2 separate regions of the Homo sapiens genome follow, and region 2 is linked to region 1. The links are contacts of gene promoters, found by promoter capture Hi-C in human tissues and cell types (Jung and others, 2019). All regions are on one chromosome and are shown on one strand. The core of a region is centred on a gene start or on the middle of the fragment in contact, and the rest is flanking DNA. Distances in the headings are between cores, read along the strand shown. Region 1 holds the start of NANS (N-acetylneuraminate synthase). Region 2 has its middle 19 kb from the start of ANP32B.

The links. The method cuts DNA at HindIII sites, captures the fragments that hold promoters and counts their contacts. A contact is called where the count stands out against the background at its distance.
Region 2: a contact is called between a fragment that was not itself captured here and the fragment with the promoter of NANS in region 1, in 2 of the 25 tissues and cell types used here (small bowel and spleen).

The regions. Positions count from the first base shown.
Region 1 is chr9:98,054,050-98,058,799 of GRCh38, reverse strand. NANS (N-acetylneuraminate synthase) reads right to left here and starts at 2,068. Exons shown (of 6, transcript NM_018946.4): 1 at 1,860-2,068. The coding sequence starts at 1,991. It also overlaps a transcript of TRIM14 not described here. RefSeq lists enhancers at 1,350-1,469, 2,510-2,559 and silencers at 1,720-1,889, 1,970-2,319. The HindIII fragment of the contact is 24,529 bases long and covers 1-4,750 here.
Region 2 is chr9:97,962,160-97,967,245 of GRCh38, reverse strand. No RefSeq gene overlaps it. Among named protein-coding and RNA genes, the nearest start is that of ANP32B, 19 kb to the left of the region's middle. The HindIII fragment of the contact is 6,260 bases long and covers 1-5,086 here.

The DNA of each region.
Region 1 (4,750 bases), core at 819-3,318:
TAAAGGCTGCAGCCACCTAGATTCCAGCTCAATGGAATTAGAGACAGGGTCTCGCTATGTGGCCCAGGCTGGTCTCGAATTCCTGAGCTCAAGCAATCTGCCTTCCTCAGCCTCCCAAAGTGATGGGATTACAGGAATCAGCCACTGCACCTGGTCAGTACAGCTTTGTTTCTATGGCTTCAGTATCTCTAGATATTTCTACAACTTCGGCATTCCAAGAGGAAAAACAGACTGCTCCTTCAAATTAAGAGTGGGAATTTCCCTCTAGAAAACAATGTTGCAGAAGAAAGGCTGGAGTCCTGTGGCTTAGGAGCAAAAACTGAAAAAACCCCTTACTGTATTTATTATACTAGCTATGTGACCTTGCCTAAGTCACTTATTTTCTCTTAGCCTTTAAAATGAAATCGGCAGCATCATGGCATTGGGTTGTTGTAAAAATTAAATGAGATGGTGCATGTACAGCATTTAGCTTAGTACCTGGTAGAGTAAGCACTCAAAAAATGTTAGCAATGTTATTTTTGTAAAGTATTTTTATGATTCAGTGATTAGGTTTCCATAAAACCAGTCCCGAAGGAACAGCAAGGGCCGAGGGTGGTGGCTCACACCTGTAATCCCAGCACTTTCGGAGGCCAAGGTGGGCAGATTGCTTGAGCTCAGGAGTTCGAGACCAGCCTGGGTAACATGGCCAAACCCCATCTCTACAAAAAAATTAGCCCAGCATGGTGGTTCACGCCTGTGGGTCCCAGCTACTCGGGAGGCTGAGGTGGGAGAATCACTTAAGCCTGGGAGGCAGAGGTTGCAGTGAGCCGGGATCATGCCACTGCACTCCAGCCTGGGTGATACAGAGACCCTGTCTCAAAAAAAAAAAAAAAAAAAACCAGGAAAAAAAAAAAAAAACAGTAAGAGAAAACCTCCAGCCTGGGTGACAGAGCAAGACCCTGTCTCTAACATAGATAAATAAATAAATAAACATTTAAAAAACCTATCACAAATGATACAAAATCAGTTGAGTAGCATTGATGAAGGGAAAGGAAAGATGGGGTGAGCTATCTCTAAACCAAAGAATCATAGTGCAGGCCAGGCCTTATGCTGGGGGCTGGGGTCGTAATGAAGAATATGGCAGTCCCAACAGAAGAGGGAGCACGCATTTACCGACTCATGTGTGCCAAGTGCTGGGCTCAGAGCTCTATCTGAGAATCTCATTTGATCCCCATAACAACTCCATGTGGAAAGAACTGTTGTTTTCAAGCCCCGTTTTCAAATGGGGAAAAGGGTTCACGGAGGCTAAGTAAGCAGCCCATGTTCACACAGCTAGTAGTGGTGGAACTGAGATTTGAACTCAAAGGCCCGGCTTTTAACCACTTCATATTTCATATACAGGGAATGGCGGGTGAGAGAGACCACAGCAACTTCCAGGAACTGTCATTCCTGAAAGTAACTCTGTGTCGCTGAAGAATGTCAGAGAAGAATTATGACGGGCTGGAAGGGGCCCAGTCATTAAAATCTTGAAGGCTATGTTAAAGGGTTTCGACTCTACCCGCGGGCAGGAGGGAGCCACAGAAGGTGCCAGGCAGGGGGGATGGTCTGATCAAGTCTGACTTTTAGAAAGATTATTCTGGCACCAGAACGGGGAGGAAACAGGTCGGGTTAGGAGGCAGCTGCTGTAATGCAGAAAGGTCACGAGGGTGGCGGACACGGTGAGGAAGAGGGATCCGAAGGATTCCGAAAACGGAACTGGCGGGCGGGAAGAGGCCGGACCAGGGTACCCAGCCGCGGAGGCCGTGTGGCCCTGGCTCCCCGCGGCCCCGCCCCGCCCCTCCCGGCGCCCGAATCCCGGGTCCCGGGAGCTGCCGCCTCACCTTGGCCATGCGGATCATGCGCTTGGCTACGTCCAGGTCGCCCTGGTGGTTCTGGCCGATCTCGGCAATGATGAAGCACGGGTGTTGCCCGCCCACCCAGCGCCCGGGACACAGCTCCAGCTCCAGCGGCATTGCAGCGGCTCGGGGTCCAAAGCCTCACTACCAGTCTGGGTCCGGCCGCCGCCGCCGCCGCCTCTACTCTGTTCTGTGAGCAACGCTGCGAGACCCACACGCCAGCCCCGCCACGTCAGCCCGCGGTCGCCGGGCAGCCAATCCCCTAGGCCCCGCCTCTCTCCCGACAGCCAATCGGGGCGGGGGGCGGGGGCGGGGCCTCCCGCGGGAAGGGCGGCGGGGCGGGTCGAGGAAGCTCCGCGGCCCTCTCCTGTGCGAGGCTTGAGGCTTGCTGTCCCAGAGCGTGGTCTCGGACCATCGCGGTATCCGTGCGTGCACCCAGGAGCAAGCATTCCCTGCAGGAGGCGGACGGCTGCCTGCGCAGGGCATAGTCTATGTCCTGCTCTCAGGAGCATGGGGAGAGCGCGCCCTATGGTGTAATGGAAAAAACAGGGTTGCTAGAGTTAGAATCACAGAGCTGGATCGAGTCCAGCCTATGCCAGTCACCAGCTCCTGCTCATATATACGTTACTCAGTCTTCCGGAGCGTTATTTTTGTTTCTCTCTGAAGCAAAAAAATAAAATAGAACTGTGAGATGACGTATAGAAACCCCTGATCACAATACTTGGCTTGTAGTAAGTTTTCAAGAAGTGGCGGAGGTTCCTATTATATGAGAGGCAACAGGTTCGAGAAGTTGCACTGGCTTGTCCAAAGCCATCCAGAAAGCCAAAGCAGAGATGGGACTAGTACCCGGACCTCCCAGCCCCAGGCTCTTAAAATACAATCACCTGGGCGGGCGCGGTGGCTCACACCTGTAATCCCAGCACTTTGGGAGGCCAAGGCAGGCAGATCACCTGAGGTCAGGAGTTCGAGACCAGCCTGACCAATATGGAGAAACCCCGTCTCTACTAAAAATACAAAAAAATTAGCCGGGCGTGGTGGTGCGTGCCTGTAATCCCAGCTACTCGAGAGGCTGAGGCAGGAGAATCGCTTGAACCCGGGAGGTGGAGGTTGCAGTGAGCCCAGATCACACCACTGCACTCCAGCCTGGTGACACTGCAAGACTCTGTCTCAAAAATAAATAAATTAATTAATTAATTTAAAAAATAAGATAAGTTATTTCCCAAAATAAACCTCCTTCTTTCCTGGGAACTAGACTGCCTTTGTAGGACTAACAAATTAGCCACAAGATTAGACACGTAGGAGTCATGCACCTGGAGGCTACAAGATTCTGACCCTCCCCAAATTGCTCCTGGGGATAACATCACTATTGTAAAACCTAAGACCAGTGCTTGAGATATTTTGCAGACCCTGCACTTGATGGATCAGCTGGCACCACCAGATTGATAAACTGGTTCATCTGATCTTGTGTCCCCCAACCAGGAACTGACTTGGCACAAGAAGACAGCCTTGACTTTCTATGATTTTATCTCCAACACAACCAATCAGCACTCCTGGCATACTGGCCTCTCTTAACCCACCACATTATCCTTAAAAACTCTGATCTCCAAGGTGGGGCATAGTGGCTCACACCTGTAATCCTAGCACTTTGGGAGGCTGAGGCGGGTGGATCACCTGAGGTCAGGAGTTCGAGACCAGCCTTGCCAACATGGTGAAACCCTGTCTCTACTAAAAATACAAAATGAGCCAGGTATGGTGGTGCATGCCTGTAATCCCAACTACTTGGGAGGCTGAGGTAGGAGAATCGCTTAAACCTGGGAGGCGGAGGTTGCAGTGAGCTGAGATTGTGCCATTGCACTCCAGCCTGGGCAACAAGAGCGAAACTCCATTTCAAAAACAAACAAACAAAAACCCCAAAAACCTCTGATCCCTGAATGCTAGGGGAAATTGATGTGAGTAATAATAAAACTCAGCCAGACTGCACAGCTGGCTCTGCATGAATTACTCTCTCTATTGCAATTCCCCTATTTTGATAAATCAGCTGTGTAGGTAGTGGGCATGGTGAACCAGTTGAGCAGTTAAAAATTTGGGGGCTCATTCGGGATTGCTCTTGTGCTACCTGCCCCGGTTCTGTAGACCCCCTCTGGCGATGGATCCAGAGGCCAGCCCAAGCGGCCACCTAGTTTTGGACTGGGGGCTGACTCTGGCGTCATCTCTATCGGCAGGGCACTACTAGCCCAATATGTATGGAGTACACTTTGCAATAGAGAAATTGTCCTGGGGAGATATCTCATAACTAGAGCTCCATGGCAAGGTGTCCCTCTGTAGCTCCACCATGGGGTGCCTGTAACTGTAACCTTATCACAGTGTCTGTTTGTAGCCCCATCATGGATTGTCTGCAGCTGCAGCCCCATTATGGGGTGTCTGATTTGGTGAGTAGTCTAGGTGCTGCCAACACCCCTTTCCTTCTCCCAATTGGTTCAGCTTCTTCAGGGGTCTCGGTTTACTCTCCCTAATTAGTAGGAAGAGTCTTGGTTCTGGAGACTTCTCCTCAATCAGTAAGATTTCGGGGAGACTTCTCAGATGGAGAATAGGATAGTTTGGAAGGAATACTCTTGGAATTCTTGGTTAGGGATCTTGGTTTGGAAGGCCTTCTGTCCGTCTTGTCTTTGTGTGTGTGTTTGTATATGTGGAGGGGATCTCTGAGGGAATTTCTGATGCAAGTCCAGCAGGCCTAACTCAGAAAACCCTCTGTAAGTATGGTCACATTCAGTGAGCTCTGAAAAAAAAGCTTAACAGGCCTGACTGTTAAGGGGTAACTCTCTGCTCTTTGTCTTGCCCAGAGACTACTCATTGATGCCATCCCTCCCCACCTTGAG
Region 2 (5,086 bases), core at 1,203-3,702, 92 kb after region 1:
CTCATTTAGGTTAAAGCTATTTCTGTACCAGGAGACCAATTAAAAGCCTGTGGCGGCCGGGCACAGTGGCTCACGCCTGTAATCCCAGCATTTTGGGAGGCTGAGGCGGGCAGATCACTTGAGGTCAGGAGTTTGACACCAGTCTGGCCAACATGGTGAAACCCTGTCGTCTCTATTAAAAATACAAAAATTAGCTGGTCGTGGTGGCACACGCCTGTAATCCCAGCTACTCAGGAGGCTGAGGCAGGAGAGTTGCTTGAACCTCGGAGGTGGATGTTGCAGTGAGCCAAGATCGTGCCACTTCACTCCAGCCTGGGCAACAGAGTGGGATTTCCTCTCAAAAAAAAAAAAAAAAAAAAAAAGCCTGTGTCAATAACCCATGTGTGAGTTGACTGAAGTCTGGAGTATGTTTTTTTGTTGTGAGAAGAGAAAGTTAGGGACAGATAGGGTAAATATTTCACAAGAAGACTTGACAAGGCTTTGTGACAGACTAGGTGTATTACATGAAGATGCAGGATGAGTCAAGTCCTATTTCAATGCAAACACCTGCCTGTTGAGTTCCTCTTCTCTTCACAGCTCGGGCCAATCAGCCCCTCTGCAGGCTCTGTCAAGTCAGGGAATTTAAAGGGCCCTGGTTCAATAGCTCAGCCTGTCTTCCAGGCTAACTTACACCTTTCATCCTACTTCTGGTATCTAAGCTCTCACCACACACCTCAGGTCTTTTTAAAAGCATGGTGATATTATGGAAAGAACACTGAATTTGGACTTGGTCAATATTTCATTCTTTCATTCACTGAGGCTCTCTACATCGCAGTATCGCCACTCCTCCAGACTGTTTTGGTAATCAGAACAATTGATTTCAAAGTTCTTGTTATGGTTCATAAGAAACTGAATAAGAGAAATTACCTGTGGGAGGGGAGTAGGTGGGATGAGGAAGAAGTAGGAGTGAAACTTTTTAGTGCATACCTTTTTATACTTAAAAATATTTTTTGAACCATATGAACACATTACTCTTTCAAAAAATATTTTTAAATCCTGAGTGGAATAAAATAAAAATATGTCTATAAATTAGGCTGCTGAAAAGGAATGGGGTGCAGAGATTGTCTACCACCTATTTGTGAGAATGTTGAGGTCCGTTAGACAGGCAGTCCTGTCACTTTGAGATAGATGGATTGCCATTTCTGCTTAATGACCAAAAATGGGAAATGGGTTACAGTGGAAAGAACTCCGCTCTGGAATAAAGACATCCGGGTCTGGGTCCTAGTTTAACTGTGTAACTTAGGTGGGTTCCATCCCCTCTCTGTGTCTTCTATTAGCTAAAGGAGAAGGACTGCATGATCTTTGAAACTCTTCCAGCTCTGACACGCTAGACTATAATGCTAATTTCTAAGCAACAGAGGTTGATTCCAACTCTAGGATAGGGCATGCAATTAATCCTAATTTATCAGCATAGTCCCACATCTTGTCACACTTATTGATTCAGAAGTGAGCACTATCTTAGATTGAGTTCTCCAGAAACAGAATTTAAGATGGAAAGTTGCATGCAGAAGGGTTTTTTTTTTTCATTTTTATTTTTTCTTATTTCTTTTTTTTAAATATTGAAACACGGTCTTGCTATGTTGCCCAGGCTGGACTTGAATGCCTGGGCTCAAGCAATCCTTCTGCCTCAGCCTCCTGAGTAGCTGGTACAGAATTGCATCTGTACCTAATATAGGCATGCACTACTGTGCATGGCATGCAGATGGTTTATTGAAAAGTGTTCTCAGGACATACAACTGTGAGGAAGTAAAGAAGACAGGGTTGGGTGTAGAGAGAAGCTGACCAGCAAAATAGTTGCTGGGTAGTTACAATGAAGGCTTTCTCTGGTCCCACTGGGAGCCCAGGAGCTGGGCTAGCCCTTCAGAGTTGTCCTAAGTTGAAGTGTATTCCCACATCAGCCTGTCACTGGCCTCAGGCTGTACCCTAGGAGAACATGAAATGGTTTCCTGAGGCTGAGAGCAGTAATATCCCCTGCAGCTGAAGGATGGGTGTATCTGCAGGGAAGAGGGGCACTGGGCAAGGCCCCACATAGCCACTGTAGGCATATGACTCAGTTTAGATTAACAGAGGTTCTCTAGGGGCTCCTGAGAGAGAGGCTTGTAGAAATGACCTTTGTCTATCTGGATATGGACAAGGACTTATGTAGCTCTGGGAATTGTTGGCAGCCATCTCACATCAAAGTCAGCTTTAATGACATTGGTGATCTGCTAAATCAAACCAAGCCTGGAGCCTGAATTACCCTGGACTTTTAGTGTGAACTTTTGTTGTTAGGTCAGTCTGTTGGTTGTGTTTTAGTTACTTACAAATGAATGTATTTTATTTCTTTGAGCAAGGATGGGTTAAAAAAAACAAAAACAAAATCAACAAAATCAACAAATGAATGGTTTTTTTTTTTTTTTGAGACGGAGTCTTGCTCTGTCACCCAGGCTGGAGTGCAGTGGCACGATCTCGGCTCACTGCAAGCTCTGCCTAATTTTTTGTATTTTTAGTAGAGACAGGGTTTCACTGTGTTAGCCAGGATGGTCTCGATCTCCTGACTTCATGATCCGCCCACCTCTGCCTCCCAAAGTGCTGGGATTACCGGTGTGAGCCACCATGCCTGGCCCTCTTCTGGGCAGGGTTTCTAAGGTGCTAGCTGAATAACTGTCTTAACTATCCTTTCTCTCCTTGATGAATGCCTTCTCTCTCTTGGCTTCTTTTCCTCCTCCCGATCCCTCCTCTTAAGCTTTAGGTTCCTGTTTCTTCTACAGGATTTCTTCTACAGGATTATTCTGGTACAGGCAAGCCCTATTTTCCCTGCCTTACCTTTAACTCGCACCAGGAGATCCCCAAGGTCCCTCTCAGCTCTAACACTATGAAGTCTGAAAAGTATGGAAACATCTTCCTAAATGTCACTTAAGTCATAAAGTCTCTTCCATTTACTTAATATTATTAGCCATTTTTTTCTATTGTTAGAGAAAACAGGCAGCAACCATGTGCAGCAACCATGTGCCAAGTTTGGTTTTGCTATCACATGGATTTTCTGTTTTAACATCACTTTACAACCTGAAAGTTTTTGTTTCCTGAGTTGAATCATCAATAAAATGTATATAAGGTTATATGGATTAAATGAGTTAATGTCTCTAAGGCCTCTAAAAAAGTACCTAACATATAGTTGTTAATGAGCACATTTGGAGTATGCGTGTGTTTGTGTATGTGTGTGCATTGTGCTTTAGGGATAAGAAAATACTGCTCTTACAAGTCACCTTTGGGGAGACAGACATTAACAAAAAGTGATATGTTCTAACTGTGATTCAATGTGATAAGGCCTTGTATCAGGACTATGTTAAAAGGAATAGAACCAAAGTACTGTAGAAATCCAGAGAGGCAGAAGGGACCAATTCTTGGGGTGCGTGGTGGCCCAGGAAGATTTTGCAGAGGGAGTGTCATTTTAGATGGGTTTCAAAGGCCAGGTAGTAGTAGCTTTCCAGGTTGACAGAAGATATTTCAGATACAGAAACTAGCAGAGACAGGGTTAAAAGAAGTAGATTTAAAATACCTAGTGTGTTGGGGAACTAGGGAAAATGTTTCATTACTTTAAGAATTGTAGCTACTGAAAGAATTGTGGTGAAGAGAACTTCCATGTGCTGGTTTCAAACAGCACATAACAAAGAGAACTTCCAAGATTAGAAGACCCTCAAGAAGCTTCTGTTCTGGATGGGAAGAAGCTCCCATGCACTACAATATGCGACCTTCACATTTTTTTTGTGTGTGTGTGGTAAAATTCATGTAACAGTCAGCATTTTAAAGTATATAATTCAATGGCATTTAGTACATTCACAGTGTCGTACAAATGCCACTGCTACCTAGTTCCAGAACATTTTCATCACAAAAGGAAACCCTGTACCCATTAAGCCATCACTCCCCATTCTGGCCTCCCCCAGTCCCTGGCAGCTACTATCTGCTTTCTATCTCTATGGGTTTACCTATTATGGACTTTTATTTTCTTTTCTTTTTTTGGGGGGGGGATAGGCTCTGGCTCTGTCACCCCGGCTTGAGTGCAGTGGAGGGCAGAGGTTGCTCACTGCAACCTCTGCCTTCTGGGCTCAAGTGATCTTCCCACCTCAACCTCCCAAGTAGCTGGGACCACAGGCATGCGCCACCATGCCTGGCTAATTTTTGTAGACATTTCATATAAATGTAATTATATAATATGTAGTCTTTCAATGCTGTGAACAAGTCACACAACATCTTAATATTATTGTGAAAATAATTTTGACCTAATGAACCTGCTGAAAGAGTATTAAGACCCCCAAGAGGTGTGCAGACCAGACTGAAAACCGCAGGTCTAGGTCATCAAGTAGTGTGGTTCCAGCTCCCCTTTCCAGTTTCTGTTCGGGCAAGGTGATTATCAGGCCCGTGTCCAGTCTGAGGGCTCCCCATCTCAGCTGCTCATCTGGGTGAAGACTCCATCAGCCATTTCCACAAAGCTGAGATTAACGCTACAACAATGGCTTCACATTTCAAACTGCTCAAAGGAACCAAACAACCAAATGGGGACACATTTTATTAGTAGTAAATCTGAAAGTGTTTTTTAAAAAAGACTCTGCCACAAACATTTCCTATAAAATGCTGATCACTATCTGCCACGATCATTACATTTTTATGGTTTCAATAATTCCCTTTTACCTGAGATGAGAGCCATCATGTACTTTTGAATATCAAGCAGCAGCCCATGCCATAAATTGCTAACCCCCTTCTCCTCTAATGATCACAGCTTATTTTATTCTTTAAGTATTCTTCTCAGAGTAATTAGCACGCTTATTATACAGCATATTCAAATGTTAATGTGCACACTGTACTGACGCTATTGTGAGACACGTTTTGCTCAGGAGCTAAAATTATGTTGCCATTCTGCTTGGTGCTAGGGGTTCTGTGCTTGAAACCTGTTTCCCACATGCAAGGAGCCAAGGTTATTTAATTGGAATGCTGAGCTAGAATGAGAAGAGTCTGACACTTAATATAGAACCTGTAAGCTAAACGGGGTCAGCAAGTACAGGGCCTACAC